Regions from separate parts of the Homo sapiens genome. Here all the other regions are linked to region 2. Evidence: promoter capture Hi-C in 16 types of primary human blood cells and fetal thymus (Javierre and others, 2016). All regions are on one chromosome and are shown on one strand. Each heading gives the region's core, a stretch centred on a gene start or on the middle of the fragment in contact. The rest is flanking DNA. Distances are from core to core; before and after follow the strand shown. Region 1 holds the start of JOSD1 (Josephin domain containing 1). Region 2 holds the start of RPL3 (ribosomal protein L3). Region 3 overlaps FAM83F (family with sequence similarity 83 member F).

What was found. Contacts are between HindIII fragments. The CHiCAGO score rates a contact against its expected background, and 5 or more counts as called.
Region 1: a contact is called between the fragment with the promoter of JOSD1 here and the fragment with the promoter of RPL3 in region 2, in 11 of 17 cell types (naive CD8 T cells, fetal thymus, neutrophils and 8 more). The highest score is 9.4, in naive CD8 T cells.
Region 3: a contact is called between a fragment that was not itself captured here and the fragment with the promoter of RPL3 in region 2, in 5 of 17 cell types (naive B cells, total B cells, M2 macrophages and 2 more). The highest score is 8.5, in naive B cells.

What each region holds. Positions count from the first base shown.
Region 1 is chr22:38,699,570-38,702,269 of GRCh38, reverse strand. It overlaps JOSD1 (Josephin domain containing 1), which reads left to right and starts at 1,327. Exons shown (of 5, transcript NM_001360236.2): 1 at 1,327-1,470; 2 at 1,652-2,467. The coding sequence starts at 2,283. RefSeq lists a silencer at 861-1,820. The HindIII fragment of the contact is 4,284 bases long and covers 1-2,216 here.
Region 2 is chr22:39,318,244-39,320,943 of GRCh38, reverse strand. RPL3 (ribosomal protein L3) reads left to right here and starts at 1,321. Exons shown (of 10, transcript NM_000967.4): 1 at 1,321-1,349; 2 at 2,352-2,544. The coding sequence starts at 1,347. It overlaps SNORD43 (small nucleolar RNA, C/D box 43), which reads left to right and starts at 1,831; the gene lies at 1,831-1,892. RefSeq lists enhancers at 1-552, 717-1,136, 553-1,442, 1,527-1,576, 1,443-2,332. The HindIII fragment of the contact is 13,460 bases long and covers 1-1,748 here.
Region 3 is chr22:40,038,815-40,041,518 of GRCh38, reverse strand. FAM83F (family with sequence similarity 83 member F) reads right to left here. Exons shown (of 5, transcript NM_138435.4): 5 at 1-2,704. Among named protein-coding and RNA genes, the nearest start is that of TNRC6B-DT, 4.4 kb to the left of the region's middle. The HindIII fragment of the contact is 1,321 bases long and covers 695-2,015 here.

The DNA of each region.
Region 1 (2,700 bases), core at 78-2,577, 620 kb after region 2:
AAGGTTGCAGTAAGCCGAGATCGCCCCGTTGCAATTCAGCCTGGGCGACAAAAGTTAAACTCCATCTTAAAAAAAAAAAAAAAAAAAAAGGCCGGGCACGGTGGCTCACTTCTGTAATCCCAACACCTTGGGAGGCCAAGGCGGGTGGATCACCTGAGGTCGGGAGTTCGAGACCAGCCTGACCAACATGAAGAAACCCCTCTACTAAACACACAAAATTAGCCGGGCGTGGTGGCGCATGCCTGCAATCCCAGCTACTCGGGAGGCTGAGGCAGGAGAATTGCTTGAACCCGGGAGGCGGACGTTGCGGTGAGCGGAGATCATGCCATTGCACTCCAGTCTGGGCAACAAGAGCGAAACTCCGTCTCCAAAAAACAAAACAAAACAACTAAATTTGAAGTGCAACAGTTTCTTCTCGTTTTTCCAGTTTTACAGAAAACCCAAAAGAAGGGCAGCTAAGGTGGATAATGATGCCTACCACGCACCCTAAGAGTAGGTAAAGGGGAAAAAATGAAATCCACGTGGGACTGCGAGTAGTTTTCGCCTTTTCCCGAAGACGCACACAATGCGCTTAGGTATACCTCGCGCAGAGGTCTCTGCAGAGAGGAAAGCCACCGTGAGAAGAGCGGGGAGCCCCCAGGCAAGAAGGCAGTGGCTTGTGTGTAGTGAACCGAAATGCGACACCAAGGAACTGCAACAGGATTCTCCTTTCCACTTGAAATGTGACTCCCAGCGAGACACCTACCCTTGACGCTCCCTGGACAGTGCGGCACGGTCGGGCCCACTAACCAAGGCAATTTGCGCCCGACCGAATCAGGTGCTTCAAAATCCCCCCTGGTGAGCCGCGCGTTAACCACACATAAAACAGTCAACGCAGAAGGAGCGAGAACGTTCGGCCGAAAAGCCCGGCACAGAGAAGGGAGGGGTGCTGAAAGCCGCGGACTGCAGCCGCTGGCCTGGCTGCCGCCCCGAAACAACGCCCACGCCCGGGAGAAGGGCAGGCTGGCGTCCAGGTAGGACTCCCTCAGGCCGCCCCGCCAGGGGCCGCGCCGAGCGGAGCGGCTGGACCCCAACCCTGCCGGCCGCCGCCGAGGTGCGCAGCCCGCAGCCCCACACCCACGGCCTTTGCAACACCCCAACCGTTGAACTGCGCCCCTACACGCCCGGCGTCTGCGGCTCCCAGGCCGGTGCCGATGACGTCAGACTTACGTCAGGCGTGACGCCACGGCTGGGAGGAGTGAGGACGGCGCGGGAGGGCGTTTCCGGAGCACGCGCCGGGCGGGGGCCGCTGACGTCGGGCTCAGGTGCGCGCGCCCGCCCGCACGGCCCAGTTGGCGGCGCGCACTCCAGGTGGCGGCCGGCTGCGGTGAGGGGACCGCCAGCGGCGAGCAGTCCCGGCGGCCCTGGGGTCTGCGGCCGGGGGCGCGGCGGGAGGGCGTCTGGGCCTGCGCTCACGTGACGGGCGGGGAGGTTTGTGTAGGGGCTGCGAGCCGGGTGGGCGCGGGCCCGGGAGCGCGAGGCTGACTGTCCGGCCCCACCCCTCGCGGGCCAGCCCTTCGCCGCGCGGAACCTTCCCTCGGGCAGGGGCCGGCCCCGCCGCTCACTTCCCGCGCCCGCTCGCCGCTGACCGGAGTTGTCTCCTCCTCCGCAGGGCCGCGGCCAGAGGGCTAGAATCCGCGCCTTCCGAGGGAGCCGCGCCCTGCGGGCCCCACCGTACCCGAGGGGATGGAGGGCTGCCCCCGAGGCCCCCGCGCGGCTCGCGGTCCCACGCCTGCCGGCCCGCGCTAGCTACTCGACTCGTGCGCTAAATTTATCCGTCACCCAGGCCTTGTCTCCCGAGTCATTGGCGTCGTGGTTCAAAAGAAATGGAAGAAAAGGAGCGATGTGACCGATTGTGTTCGGTCCTCCTGCTTTGAGGCCTGGCATTTGCAGAGGGAAACAGCAAGAAAATCGTGGGGATTTTGGAGGGGGGTGGGAGGGAAGGGTGGGGAAACGGAAACAAGGTCTTACATTTTATGTGTTTTTTTAAATTCTGCACTTTGACAGTGGTAGCAAAATAAAAGTAATCCAAAAGTTATTTTTCTATTGAGAAGAGAGAAGAGGTGGGTTTTATTTTTTTCCTTTTGATTCCAATCTTTTCTCCCAGTGACAAAGCATAAATCATGGACACCAGAGAATAAGGTGGACCTCAGGAATCCGGAAAAGACTGAGAAGCTTACATTCTTCCTCTAGAGGGAAGAGTGGGGTGTTTATAGCCATCTCTGGAACCTAAAACAAAAAACATGAGTTGTGTGCCATGGAAAGGAGACAAGGCCAAATCTGAATCATTGGAGCTGCCCCAGGCAGCACCCCCACAAATCTACCATGAGAAACAGCGCAGGGAGCTTTGTGCCCTCCACGCCCTCAATAACGTCTTCCAGGACAGCAATGCCTTCACCCGGGATACGCTGCAAGAGATTTTCCAGAGGTAGGGGACCCTTCTCCTTGGCATCTTGATACTGATATTTCTGGATTTCTGTGGGTGGGGCAGTGTCTCAGCTTCATAAACCTTCAAAGCTGTAGGTATTAGCTAGATTGCGTTAGCAGGTATAAGGGACACAAGACATGAAAAGATAATCACTACCATTTATCAGGCACTTACGGTGGGCTAGGAAAGTACTCATAGCCTCAGCTGTGTTTTCTTGAGTGATCTTCAACAGT
Region 2 (2,700 bases), core at 72-2,571:
AACTCCTGACCTCAGGTGATCCGCCCGCCTCGGTCTCCCAAAGTGTTGGGATTACAGGCGTGAGCCACCGCGCCTGGCCGAGAGAATGCTTTTCAAACGACGGTGGGAGCAAAGGCCAGGCCCAGAATTAAAGAAGATGACAGGGTGGGACAGAGGAAGCAGGTGATATGAGAGCGTGTGCTCTGGCGCAGCCATGAGGCTGAAGTAGACGGTTAGGGGAGCGTCTTTGGTGGCCGCTGAAGTTGATGCTTAATTCCGAGGAAACAACGAGGCGGCCATGGAAAGTAACGAGATACTTGATTCTTAGAAAGATTTGTAGGGGGCCAGGCGCGGTGGCTCACACCTGTAATCCCAGCACTTTGGGAGGCCGAGGCGGGCGGATCACGAGATCAGGAGTTCAAGACCAGCCTGGCCAACATGGTGAAACACCGTCTCCACTAAAAATACAAAAAAAAAAAAAAAAAAAATTAGCCAGGCATGGTGGCGCATTCCTGTAATCCCAGCTACTCGGGAGGCTGAGGCAGGAGAACTGCTTGAACTGGGAACCGGTAGGCGGAGCTTGCAGTGAGCTGAGATCGCGCCACTGCGACAGAGCGAGACTCCGTCTCAAAAAAGAGATTTGTAAGGGACCAGCCTGGAAGCAGGGAATCGGTCAGGATCCGAGTCACCCTGGAGCCTAGGCAGAGATCAGCGAAAGCCCTCGCTGATGCATAGGTCTGGAAGGCGTGGGGCTCCGGGAGGCTGAGCAGCTGGACTCGGCATGACCAGAGGTCGTGAGGCCGTTCCGCAGGCTTGGGACGCTCCTGACCCTCAGAATCAAGCGCGGGCCACTGCATTAGCATGGGAGAAATGGCAGAGATAGGGCTTGAGGGAGGGATGCCCGAGATTAAAGGTATTAAAGGTAAATTGGTGTCGCCGCAAAACCAGCGTGGGAGCCAGGAAACGAGAGTTTCAGTCTTTCTTCGCTAATTCCAGAGATAGCTGCATATCACAGGAGGAGAAGCGACGCAGCCATTTTTCTTCGTTATTATCAAATTTGGCTGCTGCCGGACGCCGTAGATTTGTGGCTCACCCACCCTTAGCCCACCTCTCCGCGGCTTTTCACTAAGTTTGAACCCGACCCCTCGCCGTAGAGTGTGTAATTTCTGTCTCCGAAGCTGACGTCAACTTCTGAACGAAAGCTAGGAGCGGAAGAGCGTGCGTGGAAATGGCGCTCGGTACGTGCCCCCGACCTGTCGTCTGCCGCGGGGGCGCGCTCGCACGCCGGAAGGGGCGGGGCCAGATTTGGCTTTATATAGCGGACCCGTAAGGCCGACCGGCCTCTACCGGCGGGATTTGATGGCGTGATGGTATGTGTTGTAATGGCGGCCGTTTCATTGTCACCGGCGTCGGCACGGCTGAATCCGCGACGCATCGCCGCCATCCCGTCTTGGCCGGCGCCGGGGGTTTGCTTTAGGGGCACGGGCGACCCAGCGGGGACTTCAGTCTGGCCTATTTTCTGGAAAGTCGAGAGGCTTGTGAAGAGCGCTTGGAGGACTGGCTTTGGGCCTGCAGGTCGGCCAGAGAGAGGCCGTAAGGGTGGGAGCAGGCTTGGAGGCCCGGCGTTTTTAAAGCCATGAGTCATTTCTAAGTTTCGACCTCACCAATTCTATCATTAGTTGGGATTAGGGCCCATAACCTGCTTGTCTGGGTAGAAGGACCTTGGGTGGAGGTTCTCGGCGCCGTTCTCATTGGGAGGTAAAGAAGCTTGGGGGAGGGGAGTGTTGTGGAGTCCTCCTGAATATCTGGGGCCGCTGGTGCACTCCGAAGGCCTCTGGAGCTCGCAGAAACCACAGATGATGAACTTATTGACGGGCGGACAGAAACTGTGTGCTGATTGTCACGTTCTGATTTGGCTCTGCGGAGTTCTTTGGCCTGTGTGTATCAGTGTAATTAGTGTCCGGGCACCGGAGGCAGCCTATAGCTTAACATTGCTAGCTGCTACCCAGCGTTTGTCCCGGGAGTCCCTTTCTTTAGCGGTCAAAACCTTGCTAATTGGCATATAAAGCTGCCTGTTAAGCAGTTTTTAGTGCCACTACTTAGTGTATTTTTGTGTGGTTAGATAAAAAAAATGGGTCGTTTTCTTACAGGTTGAGAGGATTTGAAATAAGATTCAGCTTAAATTTTGTCGAATACAAAAGCATTCTTGACACGTGCGAGCCTGGAAGAGATAATGACCTTTTTATTCGGCTTGCTGGGTGTCTGGTCAGGATTCTTCAGTATTGCTGAGATTTGGAACTTAAGCAGCTGGGAACTAGAGAAGGGGGCACTGCTTTGGTTTGGGTGCTGACGGTGATTTTTTTCCCACCTAGTCTCACAGAAAGTTCTCCGCTCCCAGACATGGGTCCCTCGGCTTCCTGCCTCGGAAGCGCAGCAGCAGGCATCGTGGGAAGGTGAAGAGCTTCCCTAAGGATGACCCGTCCAAGCCGGTCCACCTCACAGCCTTCCTGGGATACAAGGCTGGCATGACTCACATCGTGCGGGAAGTCGACAGGCCGGGATCCAGTATGTACAGACATCCTAAAAGTTGGGGGAATAGGAGTGGAGGGGGAGGGAAATTGTAGAGATGGAGTCAAGCTGTTAGCAGAGGGCAGACTTTTTTTTTTAAGCAGGAGTTACACGTTGTCAGAACTGCTGCGACAGCAGAATGGGAATGCTTAA
Region 3 (2,704 bases), core at 106-2,605, 720 kb before region 2:
GGACTTTTGGGGCTTACTCAGCCTGGTGTGAATGTTAAGCCAATGATTGGGGTGAGGGCGTCTGCCCTGTAGGGCTTACAGGCATGCCTTGGTGCCTGCGGAATCAACTCATACCCTGAAAAGGCAGCCCAGGTCAGAGAATGCTATGCCAGGGTGCTCTCTTGTGCTTGCTCTCATTTCCTCTCTGCATGCTACTTGGGGAAAATATTTTTCTGTTTGTTTGTTCCAACCCACCCAGCTTTCAGAGTAAAAAGACTCGTTAAGCCCTGCACACTTGTATGCAGGCCAAGTGCACTATGTTCTTGGAGCGCTGTGCTATTCTTAGCGCTCTATATGTGGTGTTCTATACAGTTGGCTTTTTGCTGGAGGGGAAGGCAGATTTCATGAGTGATAGCTGCCTTGGCTGGCTACCAAAAGTGCTCTGAGCCATCTCAAGCAACAGGCCTTCCTTTTTTCCCTTGAGAGGTTGTGTTGTGATCCCTGCCCTCGGCTTGGACAAATTCCAAGGCAATGGGAATTTTTGTGAACAATTCTGCAATAACCCACAAGCTGGGGGAAGGGGGGATAGCAAGCTGGATCTGCTCCAGCTCTAATTTCTGTGACACAGAAGAACTCCTTCCGCCCTTTGCACTGGCCCCTCATAGCTATGAAGAATTTGGAAGTGTTCATTAAGCATTCTCCAATTCTTGAAGCTTATAACAATGGGAAGATCCCTGTAAAGGAATCTGATCCAAAAGACAAGGGGACAGCTGACAGCTGATACTGCTTGCTTGGGCAGTGGGTGTAGCCATTGCCAAAGACCAAGAGCAATGAGGCAGGGAAACTCTCTAAAGAGGGCTGATTACAGAGGGCATGCTTATAAGCATTTATTGCATGTCTGGGAGCATTTACTGTGCAACACATCCCTTGTGTCTGTCTCACCTTCTAAATCACCTATCATTTTTTATGACCACACTTCCTGAGAAGCTACTTAGTTAAGCAGCAAACACTGGACCCCCTCATGTGTGCTGGCCAATGCTAGACACACAGGAGGCAGCTCACAAGAGAACCAGGATTATGGTTAATAATAACTACCCTTTGGTGGACACTTGCTGTGTGTCATACACTGTACTGAGGGCTTTACGTGGATTATGGCTGTTAATCTTCACAACAACCATTGTTATCCACATTTTCTAGATAGGAAAATGGAGGCACTGAAGGGCTAACTAACCCATCGTTGAACCTAGGCGGTCTGACTCCAACGAGTAAGCTCTTGTCCACGCTGCTATATTGCCTCTGGGATGTCTGACTTGGGAACCCCACAGTGCAGCTGGGGAGATGACCAGCCCTCAATGAACAGTTGTCCTCGTAGTCTTTAGTATCTCAGCCCCATCCTCTTTACCCCCTATAAACTCAAGGAAAGAAATACACCTCTTTCCGGCTAAATTACTGCCTCTGGTGGTCCTTCCTCCACGTCCCAACTGAGATCTGGCTTTTCTCCCACTCCCTTCAAATAGCTTCCTTCCCTTTCTTCTCTATTTTCTTATCCTAGCTTTTTAAATAATGGCCTGCGGCCATCTCCACCACCAGGAATGCTCTCTCGTTTTCTCTCTCTGAACCTGGCTTCTAGCCCTAACTCTACTGAAATTCATTTCTCTAAGCTCATCTATAACCTTTTTGTGGCCAAGATCCAAGAGACTTTCTCAGTCCTTGTTTCCATGGCTTCACCAATACGTTTTACTCTGAGAATCTTTTCTTTGCTTCCCCAAATAGCCAGCTTTCCTCCTACCTCTACAACTGTTCATGCTCTTTTCCCTACCATCTCTTTCTCTAAGCTCCTTCAAAGGAATCTGTCTGCACTTCTCTCCTTATGTTGTCTCTGGGGGCGTGCGACGCTCGCAGGACTCAGCAAGCTCAGCTGGGTCATTATCCTACTTTCACCTCTAAGATGAGAATTCTATCTCTCCATCTCCACCCTTCATTCTGCAGCTTGTTTGCTGCGTGACTTTTTGCAAGTCACACAAACTATCTAAGCTTCAGTTTCCTCGTTTCTAAAATGAATATATTGAATCGGATTTGTTATTCTCCACCTAAGATAATGATAAAACCTAACATTTTAACCCACATACCAGGCCAGGCGTAGTGGTTCATGCCTGTAATCCTCCCAGCACTTTGGGAGGCAGAGGCAGGTGGATCATGGAAGTCAGAGGTTCAAGACCAGGCTGGCCAAAATGGCAAAACCTCATCTCTACTAAAAATACAAAAATTAGCTGGGTATGGTGGCGCGCACCTGTAATCCCAGCTACTCAGGAGGCTGAGGCAGGAGAACTGCTTCAACCTGGGAGGTGGAGGTTGCAGTGAGCTGAGATCGCGCCACTGCACTCAAGCCTGGGCAACAAAGGGAGACTCCATCTCAAATTAAAAAAACTGCATACTATGCCAGGCAGGACTAAGTGGAAAATGAAAGCATGGGGTTCTGTGTTCACAGGTTTCATGCCCATGAAGCCAGCTCTAGTACCAGCCTCTGCTCCAAGCATTGTATATGTATGAGCTTATTCAGTCCTCATAGTAACTTTCTGAGGTAGATACAGATGAAGAAAGTAAGGCAGAGATAGGTTAAGCAGTTGCCCAAGGTCAGTTTTTAATTGGTAGAATTGAGGAAAATAACACTTGCCTGTTGGGGCTGTTGTGAGACTCACGGGTGCAGGTGCATAGGGAAGGCTGG